2 separate regions of the Homo sapiens genome follow, and region 2 is linked to region 1. Evidence: promoter capture Hi-C in 16 types of primary human blood cells and fetal thymus (Javierre and others, 2016). All regions are on one chromosome and are shown on one strand. The core of a region is centred on a gene start or on the middle of the fragment in contact, and the rest is flanking DNA. Distances in the headings are between cores, read along the strand shown. Region 1 holds the start of LYAR (Ly1 antibody reactive). Region 2 overlaps EVC (EvC ciliary complex subunit 1).

The links. The method cuts DNA at HindIII sites, captures the fragments that hold promoters and counts their contacts. A CHiCAGO score of 5 or more calls a contact.
Region 2: a fragment that was not itself captured here is called in contact with the fragment with the promoter of LYAR in region 1 in 2 of 17 cell types (naive B cells and total B cells); the score reaches 7.0 in naive B cells.

What each region holds. Positions count from the first base shown.
Region 1 is chr4:4,288,462-4,291,658 of GRCh38, forward strand. It overlaps LYAR (Ly1 antibody reactive), which reads right to left and starts at 1,693. Exons shown (of 10, transcript NM_017816.3): 1 at 1,575-1,693. ZBTB49 (zinc finger and BTB domain containing 49) reads left to right here and starts at 1,790. Exons shown (of 8, transcript NM_145291.4): 1 at 1,790-1,891. RefSeq lists enhancers at 1-180, 181-718. The HindIII fragment of the contact is 4,525 bases long and covers 1-3,197 here.
Region 2 is chr4:5,808,081-5,811,277 of GRCh38, forward strand. It overlaps EVC (EvC ciliary complex subunit 1), which reads left to right. Exons shown (of 21, transcript NM_153717.3): 18 at 121-247; 19 at 1,438-1,531; 20 at 2,259-2,370; 21 at 2,873-3,197. The coding sequence ends at 2,957. Among named protein-coding and RNA genes, the nearest start is that of CRMP1, 83 kb to the right of the region's middle. The HindIII fragment of the contact is 3,963 bases long and covers 1-3,197 here.

The DNA of each region.
Region 1 (3,197 bases), core at 443-2,942:
TGTATTACTTATTCAATTTTTTTTCTTTTTTTTTTTTTTTTTGAGACGGAGTCTCATTCTGTTGCCCAGGCTGGAGTACAATGGCGCAATCTCGGCTCACTGCAGCCTTTGCCTCCCAGGTTCAAGTGATTCTCCGGCCTCAGCCTCCCCAGTAGCTGGGATTACAGGCACATGCCACCATGCCCGGCTAATTTTTGTATTTTTAGTAGAGACGGAGTTTCACCATGTTGGCCAGGCTGGTTGTGAACTCTTGACCTCAGGTGATCCACCCTCCTCGGCCTCCCAAAGTGCTCGGATGACAGGCACGGGCCACTGCGCTTGGCCTTGACTATTCTTAAAATATTCTTGCATGCACATGCAGACACTGACCTACACATCATTACCACCACTACCACTCAAACAGCCCACCTGAGGGGCCTAGCTGGCAACCCCAGGATATCCCCCACTGAACACTGTGACCCTGAGCATGCCACTGCCTCTATAAACTTCAAGTTATCTCATCTGTGAAACAAGAAGTCAGGCCAACTTGACAAGACTCAAGCCCCTTCCACGGGTAGCATTCTGAGAAACCATGGGTATGGTGCAAGAGAAGGACAGACAAACATACTCTGTCCACCATCCTGCCTAAACCTTTGTGTATGAGGCTGACAAGGGTTACAATGGGTGACATTCACAAGGAGAGAATCTCTCCCTTGTTCCTTGCAAAAGCCCTGGGAAGTAGGTGCACCTATCTCCACTAAACAGATGAGCAAACTGAGGCACAGAAGCCATTTCTCTCTGCCTCCTACCCCACCCACGGCATCACCAGCACTGTTTTAAACACCATCCCTTCACTCGAGTAACTACCATGTGTCAGGCACTATGCTAGACCCTGGGAGCCTCGGGCACAGTGTGAGTAAGTCCCAAGTGGGCCCTCTCTGCTAGAAATCAGGGTTGCAAATACAGACCCCACCTCATCCTCCTCCCTCTCTCCTCAGAGGTAGGTGCTTCAGAGAATCCTAACATTCATGGAGCACCCAAGCCCTCTCATAGGAGGTTAACACATTTCTACTCATGTAATCCTCATCACAGTTCTCCGAGTTAGATTCTATATGTTATGACAGATGAGGAAAGTGAGGCGCAAAGAGGTTAAAAAACTTACACCAGGTCATCCCACATCCAGGTAGTGGCAACCCAGATTCACACGCAGTAGTTATTCTGATCCTAAGTATGTGCTCTGGACCGCTACATCCTAAGGCCTCCTCTTTAGGGACTGATCTCCCAAGGCTCAGAGAAGAGCCCTGTCTCCAACATGCAGCAAGCCTGAAGCCCAGTCGGGCGGTGACCAATCGTCCTGGTTTGGCCAGGCCCGAGGGAGTTCCCAGGACGCCGGACCTTAAGTTTTAAAACTAAAACGAGTTGGTCACCCTAAGTCCAGGACTCCTGCCACTTCCCCAGAGCAGGAGTGAGATCTGAATGGAACTCCTTCCTCCATGCGTAACCCAGAGGGGCTGACGGTGGAAATCCCGTCCCTCCCCTACTCACTCTCTGAGCCCCAGCCTCCCAGGTCGGACCTCTGGGCCACCACCCCTCACCTCTCAGCCAGCGCCCGCCAACGGTTTCAACCGGCCGCGGGGAGCACGTGGACTCGCCGCCGCCAGCCCAGCGCCGCAGCTACCTGCCTCTCAGGCTTCGCGGTGCAGAATTCGCTTCTGAACCACCCAGCGCGCCTGCGCACCGCGGCCACGCCCCCCCCAGTGGAAGTGACGCCAACGGAAGCAGGAAGGCGGTTCCGGCAAGCCAAGGGGGCGTTGTCGTGATGATTCCGCGGCCAGCGGATCGCTGCGAGTGGCCTTGAAGGCAGCTGCTGCAGGTGAAGAGTAGGCGGCGGGGCAGAGAGCGGCCTCCGAGGGTAAGGTGGCCGGCCTTGCGAAGGCGTGCGGGGCTGGCGCTGGTGGGAATGGCCCGGAAGGGAAGGGAGGCCGGGCGCCCGAAGGTGGCCCAGAAGGGCATGGACCCACCGCTCCTTCCCGTCTCTGGGCACTCGAGGATACCCGGGGGGTTGGCGGCTCCTGCGAGAGTCAGCGAGCATTTGCTCTGTGCCGGGCATCACAGGGGACGCGGACTGAGACCCAGACGGCCAGGTTCCGGGCCTGGGAGCCGGGCCTTCTCCCTGGTGCAGCTTCCTCGGCCTGGAAACCCCACCCGCGCCCTCTCATCTCCAGGCTTTGCCCGCTGGAAGCCAGCCCGGCCCGCCTCCGCTACGCGCTGCCCATCTCTCGGCTTCTGTTTCCTTCCACGCTGTAGTTGAGAGTAGCGCTTAAGACGACAGAGCCCACAGCCTAGCTCAGTTTCATTACGGTGTGGCCTCTTTGTGCCTCAGCCCCGCATCTGTAAAGCGAATGTCATAGCGGCACCTGCGTCCCTGGAACCTTGTCGTATTTCATGAGTTGGTGCATGTAAATCGCTTAGACTAGTGGCTGCCACTTAGTAAGTACTCAATAAACGTTAGCTCTTCTCAGCCCTTAAAACAGGGTCTGGCACACAGTGGTGGTCACTAGGTGTTTGTTGCTTAAATGAATGAATGAAAGTTGAGTGGAGGATGCACAGAGTATTGTGAGAAACCTTCACTCCCAAGGTGTGTGTATATGGGTGATAAGGTTTCACTCTGAAAGTGAGCAGTGTTGGGCCTGGAATAGAAGGTGTATTAGTTTGCTAGGACTGCAAACAAAATACTGGGTGGCTTAAACAACAGAAATTTATTATTTTCTCACAGTTCTGGAGGTTAGAAGTCCAAGATCAAGGTGTCTTCAGGTTTGGTTTCTTCTGAGACATTTCTCCTTGGCTTGCACGTGGCTGCTTTCTTGCTGTGTCCTCGCATGGTCTTTCCTCTGTGTTTTCACATCTCTGGCGTCTCTCTTTGCATCCAGATTTCCTCTTTATGAGAACGTCAGTCAGGTTGTATTAGGGCCCACCTTAATGGCCTCATTTTAACTTAATTACCTTCTTACAAGCCTGATCTCCAAATACAATCACATTCTGGAGTGCTGGGGGAACAGTTTAACCATAACAGAAGGAATTCACAGAAATGGACAAGGAGGGAAATACTTTCCAACAGAAGTGACAGAATGGCCAGGAGGCTTAAAAGCAGGGTGCTCAAGATGTTTTTTGTGTTCAGGGCACATATGTGTACTTCAGTCTTGTTTGTGCTCTCGTAC
Region 2 (3,197 bases), core at 353-2,852, 1.5 Mb after region 1:
CCAGGCCCCTCTTGGGGCTCCCAGGGATCAGCAGCCTCCCTGCCTTCCTTCTCCCTCCCTCCCTCCCTCCCTCCCTCCCTTCCTTCCTCCCTGCCAGCCTGCCTGCCTTCCTCCCCCCAGGATGCTGTCCCAGCAGAAGAGGTTCCTGGCCCAGTTCCCAGTGCACCAGCAGATGCGTCTGCACGCCCAGCAGCAGCAGGCAGGAGTCATGGACCTTCTGGAAGCCCAGCTGGAGACCCAGCTACAGGTACAAGTTACAGAACTGGACCTTCCAAAAGCAGTGGTTTAAAGAGGAGCAGAAATAGCTGAAGCCAGCCTGTGACCACACGTCAGCCATGGGGACTGCACTTCCCTGCCTGTGGCATCGTTGACCCGCTGAGTCTCACCTGCTGAGGGTGTGTCGGCCTCGCCTTAGGACCCTGAGCCCCTGGAGGGCAAGTGTGGCCTGTGTGGATCCCTACAGCAGCTGCAGCATGCTAAGCAGGGCCAGGCCCTGAGCAGCTGGTCAGGCCTCATCTATGGAGCTGACAGAGAATTGAGCATTCCCCTGTGTGCGCATGGCCACCAGGAGGCTTCCGGTGTAATGGTGACCTCTGTGTCACTCAGGCAGTGTTGGCGATAGCTAAAGTTTACACTTTATTTACAGCAAACAGGAAGCTCAGCTCTCATGATATAAAGTGCATATTTCATTACAGAAAATCCCATTTGTGTGAGGTTATACAGTGAGATGTAAGGTGAGAGTATAAAGTGTGGCTAAGCAAAGTGGCTGCCTTTAAAAAAATCAAATCTTCCAGAATGGAAGCATTTAGCAGAGTGTTGGCCCTTTCAGAGTGTTCTCCACTGGCGATGGCAGTCGCAGAGTGACAGTGGTAAGAATACAGCAGTGGTGGCCGATAGGTACTTATTGAGGGTCTATGATAGATAGTCATGAGCTGAGAGCTTTGCACACACTTTCCAACAAAAGAGGTTACTGCTACTGTCCCCATTACAGATGGACAAACTGAGGCATGCACAGGTTACGTTGCTATCCAGGGTCACACAGTTAATGCATCATGGAATTCTGGTGTGTTTGTTTACACCACAGTGTTGGAAGTTTAGAGCCCAGCCTGTGGAGTCGGGCAGAAGTGAGTCCCATCCTATTCTGCTGCACCTGCTCCGGGCAGGTCACTGAGGCCCTCTGACCTCAGTGTACTCTGTCAACTGAAGACCGACGGCCAGTGTGAGTGAGGACCCACAGTTATGCAGCAGGAGCTGGTAGATGCCAGTGTGTCCTCCTGCTCCTCTCCTCTCTGGGATGTATGTTGGAAAATTCTCCTCCACACGGGAGACGTGGTCTTCAGTGGCCAGCCTCAAGTGTCAGAATTCACTCACGTGGAGAGGGATTTAGAGAAGTCAGAGGGAGGCCCAGCTGAATGCTCCTCTCTGCTTGCATTTCAGGAAGCTGAACAGAACTTCATCTCCGAGCTGGCAGCCTTGGCCCGAGTGCCCCTTGCTGAAAGCAAACTGTTGCCTGCTAAGCGTGGGCTGCTAGGTGAGTCACAGATGCTTGAGTTGCAGCGGGAAGCACTCTGGGCTGAGAGATACGGATTCTAGTTCCACACTGGCCACTAACTAGCTGTGTGACCTTAGGCATCGTGCCTAGGCTCTCTGGGCTTTTGTGACCTTGTCTGTAAATGAGCAGGCTTGGCTAGGCCACCCCTCAGGCCCACTTGCTCTCTAGCATTTGATAATTCCAGTTCTTGGGTCTGGTGTTCACTGGCTGTGTCTCCTAACTGACTCCATTTTTCCATCTGTAAAGTGGGGATAAGCCCTCCTCCCACCCTTGCCAGCGACAACTTCAGTGACATCACAGGATTTTTTAACCTGGTAATGAGAGAGTGACTCAGAAGGTGGTGTGAGAACACAGAGATCTACTGAAACAAAAGCTGTCACACTGGTGCTGGGTTTTCAGTTGCTTGCTGCTTCATTAAGTCTTCCAGTCAGCTGGGTAGAGTGGATACCCAGCGGGAGCCTAGCAGACTGGAGCTCAAGCCACAGCTCTGCCACTTCCTGGCTTGTGCAGGCTTGGGAGAGTACGTCACCTTCCCAGGCCTCAGTTTCCTCATTAGTTGAGTGGCTGCAATAGCATAAGATACCAAGCATACACTTGGCCCACACAACATGCTCAAAAATGTCAGGCTGGGTTGGTGTGAGGCTGCAAGAAGTTGTCACTTGTCTAAAGTCACAGAGCCATGCCTGGGTTCATCTGTCCTCTACAGAGAAGCCCCTAAGGACTAAAAGGAAGAAGCCCCTGCCCCAGGAAAGAGGGGACCTGGGGGTGCCCAACAATGAGGACCTTGCCTCCGGGGACCAGACCTCAGGCTCACTCAGGTATGACTGGGCCCCGGACCTGTTGCCTGTGGCTGGGTTTGGTAAATGCACTCAGCTGCTGTGTGCCAAAAGTCAGGGCAGGAAAATCATCAGTCCCCTCAGAGGCATTAAATGTGAAGGTTCAAGAAATGACAGATATGAACGTAATTTGTGGGCAGTAAGCCATGATGATACCAGGGGTGCCACATGGCTGTTACCCTTCCTGTTTGTGTCTCATTTGGCCAGATGAGCCTTGACCTACCTCCACACCCCATTGGCATCCAGCCTGAAGTGTTGGGCAGTCCCTTCTTTGACCAGGGATGGCTGTGGTCATGGCACTTGGATGACCTCCTACCCAAGGAGGGAAACGGGTTTTATTGGTTTCTTAACAACCCATGTCAAAGTAAAAATTGTTTTGATCACCTTTGGCTGCATTTTCATTTAATCCGATTGGGTAAGTTATGGCATCATGATGGGCATGGAGTCAGCGTTCTAACTGGCTGCCTTTCTTCTCTGTTTTAAGCAGCAAAAGGCTGAGTCAGCAAGAAAGTGAAGCTGGGGACAGTGGGAACTCAAAGAAGATGCTAAAGAGAAGAAGCAACTTGTAGTTTAAGACCAGTCGGTGGGACAAGACCTGAAGCCCTGGGTCTGGGTGTGAATTCCACCTTCCCTCCTGCAGTGCTGAGAGGCAGCGAGGACGGAGAGGACAGCGGCATCTCTAGGCTCTTCTGAGAGGGACAGAGAAAGAATAGAAATGTGCCCTAAAAGCATAAATGAGTATCACCTGAGAAAATTAGGCATTCCCGTCTTGGAAACACGTCTCTGTGAGTTTGCATTTCATTTGGCTT